Linked DNA regions of Homo sapiens: regions 1, 3, 4 and 5 are each linked to region 2. Evidence: promoter capture Hi-C in 16 types of primary human blood cells and fetal thymus (Javierre and others, 2016). All regions are on one chromosome and are shown on one strand. The core of a region is centred on a gene start or on the middle of the fragment in contact, and the rest is flanking DNA. Distances in the headings are between cores, read along the strand shown.

Evidence for each region. Contacts are between HindIII fragments. The CHiCAGO score rates a contact against its expected background, and 5 or more counts as called.
Region 1: a contact is called between the fragment with the promoter of WDR33 here and the fragment with the promoter of ERCC3 in region 2, in 6 of 17 cell types (non-activated CD4 T cells, naive CD4 T cells, activated CD4 T cells and 3 more). The highest score is 8.9, in non-activated CD4 T cells.
Region 3: a contact is called between a fragment that was not itself captured here and the fragment with the promoter of ERCC3 in region 2, in 2 of 17 cell types (total CD8 T cells and activated CD4 T cells). The highest score is 5.9, in total CD8 T cells.
Region 4: a contact is called between a fragment that was not itself captured here and the fragment with the promoter of ERCC3 in region 2, in 1 of 17 cell types (naive B cells). The highest score is 5.8, in naive B cells.
Region 5: a fragment that was not itself captured here is called in contact with the fragment with the promoter of ERCC3 in region 2 in 1 of 17 cell types (total CD8 T cells); the score reaches 5.1 in total CD8 T cells.

Annotation. Positions count from the first base shown.
Region 1 is chr2:127,809,740-127,812,439 of GRCh38, forward strand. WDR33 (WD repeat domain 33) reads right to left here and starts at 1,432. Exons shown (of 22, transcript NM_018383.5): 1 at 1,273-1,432. It overlaps LOC124907885 (a long non-coding RNA gene), which reads left to right and starts at 1,512. Exons shown (of 2, transcript XR_007087230.1): 1 at 1,512-2,404. RefSeq lists enhancers at 1-414, 497-1,437, 844-923, 1,004-1,083, 1,104-1,393 and 1 more. The HindIII fragment of the contact is 7,008 bases long and covers 1-2,700 here.
Region 2 is chr2:127,292,721-127,295,420 of GRCh38, forward strand. It overlaps ERCC3 (ERCC excision repair 3, TFIIH core complex helicase subunit), which reads right to left and starts at 1,424. Exons shown (of 15, transcript NM_000122.2): 1 at 1,334-1,424; 2 at 793-998; 3 at 1-126. The coding sequence starts at 1,361. The HindIII fragment of the contact is 2,323 bases long and covers 449-2,700 here.
Region 3 is chr2:128,099,496-128,102,195 of GRCh38, forward strand. The region is part of intron 2 of UGGT1 (UDP-glucose glycoprotein glucosyltransferase 1); the gene reads left to right. Among named protein-coding and RNA genes, the nearest start is that of UGGT1, 9.6 kb to the left of the region's middle. The HindIII fragment of the contact is 1,995 bases long and covers 264-2,258 here.
Region 4 is chr2:128,036,977-128,039,676 of GRCh38, forward strand. No RefSeq gene overlaps it. Among named protein-coding and RNA genes, the nearest start is that of SAP130, 10 kb to the left of the region's middle. The HindIII fragment of the contact is 2,307 bases long and covers 268-2,574 here.
Region 5 is chr2:128,013,291-128,016,116 of GRCh38, forward strand. SAP130 (Sin3A associated protein 130) reads right to left here. Exons shown (of 21, transcript NM_001330301.2): 5 at 1,513-1,624. Among named protein-coding and RNA genes, the nearest start is that of SAP130, 13 kb to the right of the region's middle. The HindIII fragment of the contact is 1,228 bases long and covers 781-2,008 here.

The DNA of each region.
Region 1 (2,700 bases), core at 182-2,681, 520 kb after region 2:
GCCAACTTTCTACCAAAATTCTTCCTAGGAGTACAGGAAAGACAAGTTAAAATTTCTCCCCAAGTTTCAAGAAGATAGTCTAAATATGGAACTTCAAGTCTCAGCAAAAACTCAAATCTATACAATATTTTATCTTCTCCCGGTCAAGGAGACAAAAAAAGCAAAAGTATCTTACAGTAATAAAAAATGGGTAAAATGCAATTAAGGCGAGGAAATGAAAAATGCCACAAGAGGTACAACTAGCATAACTGTCACTAAAAGGTTTGAATTAAGTAGGTTTACCACTGCACCATATTCACAGGCTATATATACATACACACACACATATATACACATATATATGTATATATAGCATGCATTAGCTCTCCAGAGTGTACTAAAAAAGTAAAGTCTACGCTCCCCAGAGTTGTTCCTTTCAGTGCAGGCTTTTTGTTCATATTCTAATGTCTTCCAAAGTTCCTGAACAGTCAACTTAAGATCATGTGTGTAGAAACTACTTTAAAACATTCTTGACAGGCTTTCTACAAGTAGCCCGTATTTTTCTGATTTGATTTAAATAGATCCAATTACGGAATTCCCTACCGACCTGCCGCCGCCGCCTCCTCCTTACTCCGGAAGGGGCCACTAATCCCAAGGGTTACAACCAAGTACAAACATTCATTGTCATTTCTTTTAAGAAGGCATGCTAAGATCCTCACTACTTAGTTGCCAGAAGACAACTTAAAATCAGAAACAGGGATCTAGCACAAACCAAATAGAAATACAACTATTCCAAAAAAGCAGGGCTTTGCCTGTCAAGCTGTAGCCTCATCCTTATAATAAGCACCGATTTCAAGCCACGATAACATCACGGCTAAGTCTTCAGCTGTTTTGCAGATTTCACGTTAACTTCCCTTGACCCTTTCAACCAACTACTTCAACTCGGCCCACTTCTTTCCACTCCCGCCCCAAACCTCAGTTAAAATGCATTTCCCTCCAAACTTCACGTCTTAACTGTGGCCTGACTTACGTCTTCTCGTCGCCACCGCTCCCAGTCAGGGCCTTAGTTCTAACCATGGCCGCTTTTCCCGGTTGGCCTCCAGCCTCCAGCCCCCTCCCATAAGTCTCGAACCTGCCTCGAACAGCCGCCCCGAGGTCGATTCTCCCAGTTCCTCCAACCTGTGCCCAGGCGCCCGTCCAGGCCCCCAAAGCACGCAACGGCCGAGCCCGAAAATGGCGGAGAGTGCCGCTGCCTGCTGCAGGCGAGCAGTCCCGTGTCGCCGCCGCACTCACCGTCTGGCTTTGAGCAGAGCTCCTAAATGGCCAGCGAAGCGTTCGCCTTCAGAGCCAGAAATGTCTCTCTTGTTTGGTCTCCCCACCCCGATCCTCTCAATCCCGCTCCTCCAAAGGAGCAGCCGCCATCTTCCCCTATGGGCCACCGAACGCACGCTCTGGGGTCATCACGCACTGGCGGGACGGCGCTACGTCACGCGCGCCTGGACCGCGGGCCTCTGTGAGGTTCGATCTGCGCATGTGCCTAGGTGAGGTGCCGAGCCGCGAGACCCTGCAGAGCGCTTCCTTTGTTCCGGAGCGAGTAGGACGCGCTACCTCCTGGAGGAAAGAAGCGACTGCGTTTCGCAGTGCTGACTTTTTTTTACAGTGTGAGCTAACGTGTATGCTCTGAAAAACACCCCGTTTTCCAGTATGTGAATGAGTATATTTGTACGGGGCCAGTACGGCAGACATAGCGGGTCGTTGGACCGAGCCCACCGAGAGTGGATCTGTGGGAAGCCACTGTGGCACCTTGCTGAGTCTGTTCACCCGTGCAGCTAGCTGGTGGCAGCCCTGGCAGATCCCGGCACACAGTCAGGCTCCACGCCTTACCCGAGCCAGTTGTGCCTCTAGATTACGCCTCGCTTAAAGTCCAGCGACCAAGATAGAAAAACAGCCCCACGATGCAACCATTTTGGAAAACCGCTGCAGTTTCTGCCAAAGCTAAATGTACGCTTACCTTGTGACCCCAGAAATTTCACTTCAAGAGGAATGAGTGCATACGTCCACCAAAGGCATGTGCAAGAATGTCCATAGCACGTTTATTCGTAGTAGTAAAAAACTGGTAACCTAAATGTCCATCAGCAGTTGAGTGGCTAAATTGTGGTGTATCATACAGTGGATTTCTACAGAGAAATAGGAAGTTACGGATAAACGCAACAGCCTGAACGAATAGCAGCTACTGTTAACTTAGGCACAAAGAAGAGGACGCTGTATGATTCCATTTTGATGAGGTTCAAAATATAACTGCACAGCAAGTTGTTCTCCAGTATGAATCAGGAATCGTACCAGCCTGGGGAACATGGCGAGATCCCATCTTTGCGCGTCGGGGTGCGTTCCTGTGACCGCCTTCCTGTGATCGTTCCTGTGATGGGTACTTGGGAGACTGGGGTGGGAGGATCACTTGAGCCCAGGAGTTGGAGGGCGCAGTGAGCCAAGATCGTGCCAGTGCACTTAAGTCTTGGAAGCAGAGTAAGACCCTGTCTCAAAGAAGTCTTACTTTTGACTCCATAATCCCCTTCCAAAAATCTATTCTAAGGATAGCCTCAGAGATGTGAGTAAGATTTGTGTACTAATCTTTGAGGTATTAATGATAGCAAAAAAAAAAGGAAACAGTAGCAGACAGTGATTAAATAATGGCACATCCATACGTAGACTATCATGCAGACA
Region 2 (2,700 bases), core at 174-2,673:
GGCAGTTAGTTTGTACTCATGCACATGGGTTGGTCGGCACACTGGCTCTGCAATAGCCACCAAGAAGTCTTGGGCATATTTGTAAACTGGAGAGAAGGCTTCCAAGAAGATATGGCCATCGGGAGCCTGAGAGATACCAAATGGACAAAACAGACAAGGAAACATGAGTTGCAGAGACTACTGGGCTCTTGCCCATATCATTATCAAGAAAGAATAAGCTGCCCAACACCACAGATATTCTTGCAAGCACTCCTTCAGACAACTGTGGGGCCTGTTACATTAATCAGATACAGAAGAGTAAAGAAAAATAGAAGAAAGTGTTTCCAAAGTCAACAGCTGTTTCCTACTATTCTGCACAGAGAAAGCCCATCTTACTGGCTATCCTCAAGTTACCTTTTGGCTAGATTTCAACTAAATGTATAACATTAATTATTTAAAGTAGAGCAAAAGCTTGCTACCGAACATGTCTTCCATTATTTGAGGAAACAAACTGTTACATGATAAATGCTATTTATTCGGCAGATAAAAGGATTCACTACATGGGGTAGGGCTGGGGAAGGAGTGAGAGTAAACCGAGGGGTTAGAGCTGTTGGAAGCCCAGGTCCGGCCGCCACACGTGTGCGCAACTGCTCGCTGTTGCCTTGGGCTGTTCCAACGTGTGTGGATGAAAATTCTCTCCCGGCCAGTTCTAGGGGCAGTATCCTGAATGTCAGTTTTGACTCTGAGGATGCCCAAGATTTAGCTGCCGCTCCGCACACTCCTGGGCCCTGCCCAAGCTAAGGGCATGCTTACCACCCAGAGGGGCCTGGAGGTGTGGTCGTCCTTCAGCGGCATTTGCAGCCTGTAGTCCTTGGCTCCATATTCATCCACTTTGGTGCCTGACTCATCCACCTGCTTCCCCGCCGCCGAGGGAACCGCTTCCTGAGGGTCGTTCCCCGGGGCGTCCTCTTCATCATCCTCTTCATCCTCATAGTGCCGCTTCCTGGATTTCTTCTTGTCTGCAAGATACCAACACAGAAGTAAGCCCAGCAGGAGCCTTCAGGGTTCCCTCCGCACCGCTTGGCAGCATTTCACCTGCGCCGCCGCAAACTCCTAGCTAAGAGCCACCTGCATCCCGCAGGCGTTGCGCCCCTCACCCGTCTCCCCTAGGCCGAGTTCGCTGGGCTGCGCCCAGGTCCAGCATCTCTCCCGCCCAAAGGCCTGTCCCAACGGGGTGCGCGCGGGAGGGCCAGCAGGGTCGGCCGGCGCAGAGGCCCGGAGCAGCTCCGAGGCAGAGCGGGGGGCAGGGCCGGCAAGGGCAGTCGTGGCTGAGCGTGCCCGCGCAACGTCTCACCGCGGTCCGCTCGGTCTCTTTTGCCCATGGCAGCTACAGCAGCAGAGAGAAGATGACCCCGCTCCCACAGGCCCGCCGCGGCATCCGCTCTGGGGGGACTTCCGGCTCAATCCGGAAGCTCCCTGTTGTCCACACAGGATGTCCCGCCTCTAGGCGCCGTGATGTGGGTGGCTGGAAGAGCGGAGAGCCAGCGACCGCCGATCTGTTAGCTCGTGCGACCCAGCGGCGGGGGTCCTCCACTGTTCATTTCTCTACAACTGAAGGAAAATACTGTGTGTTGAGCACCTGTGTAGTGCGCGAATTAAAGGCCTCATCCTTCTGGAACTTAAATTTTAATGAAGCCATGTGGGCAATAAATGTGTGTGTGAGAGAGAGAGAGAGAGAATGTGACCTGAGTCCATGGGTAAGGAAGAATTCTTTTTTTTAATTAAAAAAAATTTGGCTGAGCACGGTGGCTCACGCCTGTAATTCCAGCACTTTGGGAGGCTGAGGTGGGTGGATCACTTGAGGTCAGGAGTTCGAGGCCAGCCTGGCCAACATGGTGAAACCCCATCTCTGCGAAAAATACAAAAAAAAGTAGCCAGGCATGGTGGCACACGCCTGTAGTCTAAGCTACTTGGGAGGCTGAGATGGGAGAATCTCTTGAACCCAGAAGGTAAAGGCTGCACTGAGCTGAGATTGCACCACTGCACTACAGCCTGGGCGACAGGCCGAGAGTTCGTCTCAAAAAAAATTTTTTTCTTTTTTTTTTTTTTTTTTTTGAGACGGAGTCTCGCCCTGTCGCCCAGGCTGGAATGCAGTGGCGCGATTTCAGCTCACTGCAAGCTCCGCCTCCCGGGTTCATGCCATTCTCATGTCTCAGCCTAAATAAAGCAGATTACCCTCAATAATGCGGGTGGGCCTCATCCAAATCAGTTGAAGGCCTTAAGAGCAAAGACAGGTTTCTCAAGGAAAAAGGAATTCTGCCTCCAGACTGCAACACAGAAAGTTCTGACTGAGTTTCCAGCCTTTGGACTCAAAACTACAACATCAACTCGTACCTGAATTCCCAACTTGCCAACCCCCACAATTGCATGAGCCAATTCTTTAAAATCAATCAATCAATCTCGCTTGCTCAGTGGGCCTCTTGGTTCTGTTTCTCTGGAGAACGTAACACAGATTTTTGGTACGGGGAATAGGGTACTGCTGTAACAAATACCTAACAATGGGGAAGTGGTTTTCAAATTGGGTAATCGGTAGAGGCTGAAAGAATTTTGAGGCGCATGATAGAAAAGCCTCTATTGTCTTGAAGAGCCTTGGTAGAAGTATGGGCATTAAAGGTGATTCTGGTGACGGCTCAGATGGAAAGGAGAAATATGTTATTGAAA
Region 3 (2,700 bases), core at 11-2,510, 810 kb after region 2:
TGAAGAATTTTGCCATGTTGATTGTGTGAACGAATGGTTGCACCTCTTAAGGAAAAAGCCTCATTTGATACTGCTAAAAGGACCAGTGGGAGGGGGCATGTGGCAGCCGGTCTTGGCTAGCTCAGGAGCCTAGCAGACTTTCTGCTAAATAGACTTCCTTCCATCGCCTCTCTCTGCCTTTCTTTCTCAGCATAGAAGTGGCAAAACAAAGACAAAACCATTGTATGTATTTCATGGTGATAACTAACTTGATAAATGGGTCAAGCTTGTCAAATGTCAGAACTTTATTTGATACAGCATAGTTGTAAAAGTGAAGTGGCTCTTTTTTAAGAGTTCTTATTATGGGGGAAAAAAGCCCAACAAAGCAAATAACAAACAAAAAAGCAGTGACTGAAGATATTTTGAGACTGCCTGAGCTGGACTGCCTGAGCTGGACTCTAAAAACTAAAGTTTTTCTTTTCCTTTTTGCTAATCTTATTTTGGATGATTTGTTTGGTATAAAATCTGTCATTGAGATTTACAACCCCCCCCCCCACCCTACTTATTTTTTTTGAGACAGAGTTTCATTTTGTCACCCAGACTGGAGTTCAGTGGCGCCATCTTGGCTCACTGCAACCTCTGCCTCCCAGGTTCAAGCCCATTCTCATTCTCCTGCCTTAGCCTCCCAAGTAGCTGGGATTACCGGCGTGTGCCAGCATGCCTGGCTAATTTTTATATTTTCAGTAGAGATGGGGTTTTACCATGTTGGCCGCCAGGCTGGTCTGAACTCCTGACCTCAGGTGATCTGCCCTCCTTGGCCTCCCAAAGTGCTGGGATTACAGGCGTGAGCCACCGGGCCTGGCCAAGATTTACTATCACTTTCTGAATCATTTTGTACAATTAACTGTAACAGGTGTTTTTGTGATATTCTGTTTAACATTCTTTTTTTGAGATGGAGTTTCGCTCTTGTTGCCCAGGCTGGAGTGCAATGGCGTGATCTCGGCTCACCGCAACCTCTGCCTCCCAGGTTCAAGCGATTCTCTTGCCTCAGCCTCCTGAGTAGCTGGGATTACAGGCATGCACCACCAAGTCCGGCTAATTTTGTATTTTTTTTTTTTTTTTTTTTTAGTAGCGATGGAGTTTCTCTATGTTGGTCAGGCTGGTCTGGAACTCCCCACCTCAGGTGATCCACCCATCTCGGCCTCCCAAAGTGCTGGGATTACAGGTGTGAGCCACCGCGCCAGGCCTCTGTTTAACATTCTTACCCTGAATTACATTTTGTTACTTTCACTTTTATTTACACTAATTTCTTGATAGTTGTACATTCTTGATCATTGTCCTAGAAGATTCTTACAGCATAAAACTATGGACTTTTGAGAAAGAATGCTAAAATTGCCAGCCCTAATTGCTCAATATTTTCAGTTTCTTTGATCACTGTGAAGTGGACAGGGTATACTGTTTTCTTCACCAACTTCCTTATCACAGACATCTCCCCCTTTCATGATATCCCTGGTCATTTGCCATTTTGTTTTATTTTTATTAATTTTTTTCCTTGGCATGTGAAGTAAGAGCTACATTTGCCCTTTTGGTTTACTATTTTTAGGCCCCTTCTCCTGTGGCTATTTGTATACAGTTTCCCAAGGTAATACGACATGTAGGCAACTCATAGAAATGAGCTATGCTTATTAGAATCCACTTAGTATTCACCTCCAGAGCTAGCAGAGCCCACCATTCTTCCTTCTTATGTCTGTGGGAGACCCTGATGTTGGATCAAGGTACTATGTCCATCTGGTTAAGGATGAAGGGTCAAAATATTTTACTACACTTTATGGCATGCCACCACCACAGATCTTTTGCCTTCCTTGCATCTATCCCTTAGGGACTAAAAATATTCCTGTTGTGTATTTTTAGATTGGACCTGATGTTTGTGAAGGAGTTGTAGCTTTGTGATTGTCTATGAAGTGATATTTATCTTTAATTGAAGTAAAACACTAAATATGTTTTCTGCAGCTGTAGCTACAGAAATATTATATAAGGAGGTATTATTAAAATCAAAACCAATAATCATTTACTGAGTGCTAAATTTTGTAATGACCCAAGAATGTAGCATGTTAGAGGTATAAATTAAATAGACATGAATTTATATTCCAGCTTTTCCATTGACTAACTCTATGTCCCTAAGAAAGTCAGTAGCATCTCTGAATGGCAGCTTCTTTATTTGAAAAACGGTTATATCTGAGGGTGGCTGTGTGGGTTTGCGGACACGAGTAAATATGCCAAGCTTAGTGACTGTAACATCGTAGAGCCTCCTTAAATATTAGTTTCTTCCCTCCTAGTTCCACATAGAAGGAAGACCAATGCTGATCTCCCGCAATAGCTTTGGAAATCTAAGAAAACAAGTTGTCACCTGATTTGTACTATCTTGTGGGCATTCATTCTGGTTGTTTGTAGTTTTTTTTGTGTTGTAGATTAAAAACTTGTCCTGGATTATGGCATTTCAAAACATTTATATATGGAGAGAATGGTATAATGTACTCTCTCTGTACCCATCATCCTGTTTTAACAATTATCAATTTAAGTACAATAACCACCATCACCACCCCCTTCTCTCCTCCCGCACTAGAATATTTTAAAGCAAATCCCAGACATCATATAGTTTGTAAAATCATAATTTTTTTTTTTTTTGGGATGGAGTTTCACTCTTGTTGCCCAGGCTGGAGT
Region 4 (2,700 bases), core at 171-2,670, 740 kb after region 2:
GGATAGCCTTCCCCTTCCCACCTAGATAGCTGTGTTCAATTTCAAAGATTAGCCAATCAGGTCAGTTTAGACTGTGCGGTCCCACCCCAGCCAATGAAGACAGAACACAGCAGTAGGAACCAATTGCATTAGGGATAAAAACCCCTGCCCCACCCTGCTCAGTGTGCTCTTGCAATCGTGACTGGCGCAAGCTGCACACTTCTGCGGAAGTAAATTTGCCTTGCTGAGAAAATTTCTGTTTGAGTGCTATTTCTTTTGCAGCACTGAAGCTTGTTTCTAACAAATTTGGGGGTTCGTCCAGGATTCCCATTCTCCTCTGGGGAAGGGTCCAGTCCTCTCCTGTGAGGAGGTGTGCCCTGCTGCCTCATTGCAGTGGACTCAGGGGTAAGGAATCAAGACCCACCTGGTGTGACGAATAAACCTGGACTCTCAGCAATGCAGGAAAAAACAGACCAACAACTTGGGAAAAAAAAAGAAAAAGATCATCATATACCATGGCAACCAGGTAACTCTGTGCACAGACCAAGGTAAGAAACATTACTGGGTTGACAACGTATTTCCTTGATTGTTGGGAGATCTTGGAGGTTGAAAGCTGTAAGTGTGTGAATAAGCACTACTAGCGTGCAGAGTGAGTTGAGTTCAATCTGTGGTTCCATGGTCACCTCATATGGCGGCCTTTCGAGGGTCCCATCAGGGGTTTATACTGATTCGCCAACGTTAAGAGGGACCCGATGTTCCCTTTGGGGAAGTGGCCAGAGAGGATGAAATGAAAGGAAAAGAGTGCAAGAAGCCCCCACCAGGGAGGGTTGAGCCTCTAGAGAAAAGGAAGGCAAGAAATCCCTAATACGAGGCATTGAGCCTCTAGAAGAAAGGAAAGGTGAGAAATCTCCAGTAGGGGGCACTGAGCCTCACACAAACCTCTAGTATTAGGGAAGGCAAAAAAATTTCCAGTAGGGGAAGTTAAGGTTCACCCCAAAACCATCAAGATTGGAAATACCCCAAGTAAGACAGGAAGTAAAAAGGATAAACCTAACAGCAATGATATTCCCCTTGATAGTCCCTTAGGTCTCATGTTAAAGTATTTGAAAGATAATAAAGGACTAAGCATAAGATAAAGCAACGAATGATAAAATAGTTTTATTTGGACCCAGGAACCAATCCTCAAACCCTCAGTTTTGTGGACAAAATTTGGGTCAAATGAGTACTGGATTTGTCAGCTTCTAATAGAACATGTTAATATCAAGAGTCTTGTTTCCCAAGAAGAGATAGATTATGCCTTGTTTTGGTGACAAGGACCTGTTCTTCTCTACCCCCCAAAACTCTAAAAGATAAGCGTAAGCCAGAGAATGTTTCCCCTAAGGAAACTGAAACTCTTAACCCCAAGCAATCTACACCTCGGACCTGCTAAATCACCTTCCCCCACCAAACACTCCTAACTTTCCTCCCCCTCAAGCAGCTGCTGTCCCAGACCCTTCTCCTACCCCCGTTGTTCCCCCTCCTTATAACCCTGCCTCTTGGGAATCATCCCAAGAGCCCAATCACTACCAGCCTAAGTACCCTTCCCTAAAGGGACTTCAACGTGAAATAGAGAAATGTAAAAAAGATATTCAAAACTTCCCCAAACTTTCCCTTCCCCTCTGCCTTAGGGGAATCAGCTCCAGCTCTCTTCCCCTTGAGGGAGGTGCCCCTAGGAGGAGGAGGCATTGGCTTTGTAAATGCTCCTTTAACCAGCTCAGAAGTACAAAACCTAAAAAGAGAGCTTAAGCCACTATTAGACAACCCTTACGGGGTAGCAAACCAAATTGACCACTTTCTAGGACCACAGTTACATACTTAGGCTGAGCTAATGTCCATCCTAGGCAACTTCTTCTCAGGAGAAGAAAGAAGCATCATTCGTAGAGCTGCTATGGTAGTCTGGGAACGTGAACACCCTCCTGGCCAAAACGTTCCTGCAGCAGATCAAAAATTCCCCTCCCAAGACCCCTGGTTGGACAATAACAATGCAGCCCACCAAGAAAATATGCAAGACCTTAGGGAAATGATAATAAAAGGAATTAAAAATCAGTACCCTGAACCTAGAATCTTACCCAGGCATTTCATATTCAGCAAGGGAAAGATAAAGGGCCTATAGAATTTTTAGACAGATTAAAAGAACAAATGAGAAAGTATGCAGGTCTAGATCTCGAGGATCCTCTTGGGCAGGGAATGTTAAAACTTCATTTTCTTACTAACAGTTGGACAGATATTTCAAAGAAATTACAAAAGATAGAAAATTGGAAAAACCGTCCCATGAGTAAACTTCTTAGGGAGACTCAAAAGTGTACGTAAGAAGGGACGAAAAGAAACAACAGACAAAGCAGAAGGCAAAACTTCTGCTGTCAACCGTACCACACAGTACTCAGGGGGCGAGAACCTATAAAGAGCCTAGGCCCCCACTTTCCAAGCCATATAAAGAGCACCAAAAAGCGAAGCCTTCGAACTTAAAATTAGAAAAGGAAGAAAGGATCTCTTTGAAGGCTATAATGCTTTGAAAACTGTGTTGGCAGTGTGGCATGACTGTTTAAAGTAGATAAAAGCTTGTCCTTTTACCCCATCCCGGCATGACTGTGAAGCTGGCAAGGAAAGAGGAAGAAAGGCAAGTTCGGCTGCAAGCTGGGCGGCTGGGACAGGTTGGCTGAGGGACCACTCTGGAGGGCTCTT
Region 5 (2,826 bases), core at 145-2,644, 720 kb after region 2:
AGAAAACAAAGAAAATGTGTATTCAAGAGATTTAATAATAATTTATATTGCCTCTTCACAGACAACCTTAAGTGAAACTAGCTGCTGTTTTTTGTTTCTGTTAACTGCAAGTGTGCACAGTGGTAAAGCACACAGGGAACAGCAGTGTGATGCCACTGCCTCAGCTCTGACGAGGCTCGGACACTTTGCCTTCCAGTCTTTGTTCCATTAGAGCAGACGTCGACATTGCCAAAGGGACACATTATGAACCTTAACCTTAAACCTAACCCTGCACTTTTCACCCTGCAGACCCCCATAAGGGCCTGTGAACCACATTTGGAGAACTGCTGAGTTATGCTATAACCAAGCAAACCTGGTCTTGCGTTTGCTAACTTGATTTTGCCAACAATCTCCAATTGTTGTAAAGTCTCCAATAAAAGGTAAAAATTTCTAGTCAAAATTCATTTATTACCTCACAACCTATTAGAACTTAAGGGTAAAAATAAATTAATCTTAGCCATGTGGTGGCTCACACCTGTAGTCCCAGCCACTCAGGAGGCTAAAGTGGGAAGATCGCTTGTGCCCCAGAAATCTGAAACCAGCCTGGGTAACCCAGTGAGGCCCCATCTCAAAAAATAATTATCATCATCATTTTATTGTTACATAAGTTAAAAAACTGAGTAAAGATCATCACTGAACTTTAAAAATATTCAGTATTAATATTTGTGACTTATGTATTAAAAATAAAGACCATGTTGCAGATAAGCAGTCTAATAATAAAGACCATGTTGAGATTATCAAAGCTTGGGCAGTTCCTCAATATATAGGACAATTTTAGACCATATTAAACACTTTAATTGCATAAATATACACACTTGTAATACAACTATAATAAGCACATATTAAACCATGCTAAAAACATGGATTGCTCTAAGTTTATTTCTACTGTCTTGCGATTTTTTTTCTTTTTCTTGAGACAGGTTCTCGCTCTGTCACCCAGGCTGGAGTGCAGCGGCGCAATCTCAACTCATTTCAACCTCTGCCTCCCGAGCTCAAGCCATCCTCCCATCTCAGCCTCCTGAGTGCCATCCTCCCATCTCAGCCTCCTGAGTGCCATCCTCCTATCTCAGCCTCCTGAGTGCCATCCTCCCATCTCAGCCTCCTGAGTGCCATCCTCCCATCTCAGCCTCCTGAGTAGATGGGACTACAGACGCATGCCACCACACCTGGCTAATTTTTTGTATTTTTGTAGAGACAGGGTTTCGCCATGTTGCCCAGGCTGGTCTCAAATTCCTGGACTCAAGTGAACCTACCACCTCAGCCTCCCAAAGTGTTGGGTTTATAGACATGAACCGCAGCACCTGGCCTTTTTTTCTTTTTAAATAAAAGAGGTTTATTTGGTTCACGGTTCTGCAGACTGTTGTTCTGCAACTTTAACAAGCTGATTCTAGATACATTCTGTGTTACGTATTTTACCAAATGTATATCTACTACTACATTTTGAGAGTTTGAACAAAACTTGCAAGTCGTTACCTCGAGGTAAATGAGAAGCTCCAATGTGAAGAGGGGGCCCAGGAGCATTGCTGCGGATGATAGACATTTGCACATTTGTAGTCATGATGTGATGCAGGTTACTGGGATGGCCCTGAAAGAAAGAGGATAGAACGTTATTTTTACATGTTTGCTCTTAGCCATTGCCTCTAGGAAGTCACCTGCCTCCAAATGTGGGTCAGGTTGTTTTTTAGATAGTGAGTATCCCAAGAGAAAGGGCTAAGGACATTCAGCTTGAGCTACTTTTACATGCCATACCGTACAATGAACTGTGCTAACAGGCATGTGAGAAGTATGAGGACCCCACAACTGCTGCAGGCCCACATAATTACAGATAATATACTTCGATATCTACGTTTAGAAACTCTCATCTGCGATATTACCTTTCACACTTGTTTTCCCTGTTCTGGCCAAATGCTTATTTTTTTTCCCATTCTCACTATTTCCTTTACATACCACTGCATCCATCCATTCTTTAAGCTTTTTTGTTTCTAAGTAAATGTCAGTTGGTATCCAACAGGTGCTCCCTACCAGTTCTTCAGCTCAACCCTGAAATGTCCCTTACATTCTCCCAAACCACAGAGTTCAGGGCTTCTCAGCTAAGGGTTCTGGTACTTCTGAGAGTACTCAGCAGTATGACAAAAGGAAAAAACACAGTACACCTCTTTGGGATATAAATTTTTCTTGAAAATGTGAAGGGAAAGTTTTTAGATTTAGTTTTTTTCCCCAGGTAAAAAATGTAAAATATTTAATTAATCAGGTACACAGCAGAGTAGGATTGCAAAATTTCACAAAAAAACCTTAAAACAGAAGACTTCAGAATAAATGTTCGCAACTAAGGCTGGGTGCGGTGGCTCATGCCTGTAATCCCAGCACTTTGGGAGGCCGAGGCGGGCAGATCATTTGAGGTCAGGAGTTGGAGACCAGCCTGGCCAACATGGTGAAACCCCGTCTCTATTAAAATAAAAAAATTAGCTGGGGGTGGTGGTGCCCGCTTGTAATCCTAGCTACTCGGGAGGCTGAGGCAAGAGAATGGCTCGAACACGGGACGTGGACGTTGCTGTGAGCCAAGACTGCACCACTACACTCCAGCTTGGGTGACACCGTGAGATTCTGTCTCAAAAAAAAAAAAAAAAAAGTTTGGAACTAGAGAGCTGCTTGAGGTAACCTATCCCAAGAGATGCACATCTGCTCTCCTCAGAGAAACCACAGAGCAGCACTGCCTACCCCCGGAAGGCAGTTCTTGACGCTAAAACCAAACACGAACCGGACTCCGGACTCCTCAAGGACACGGAC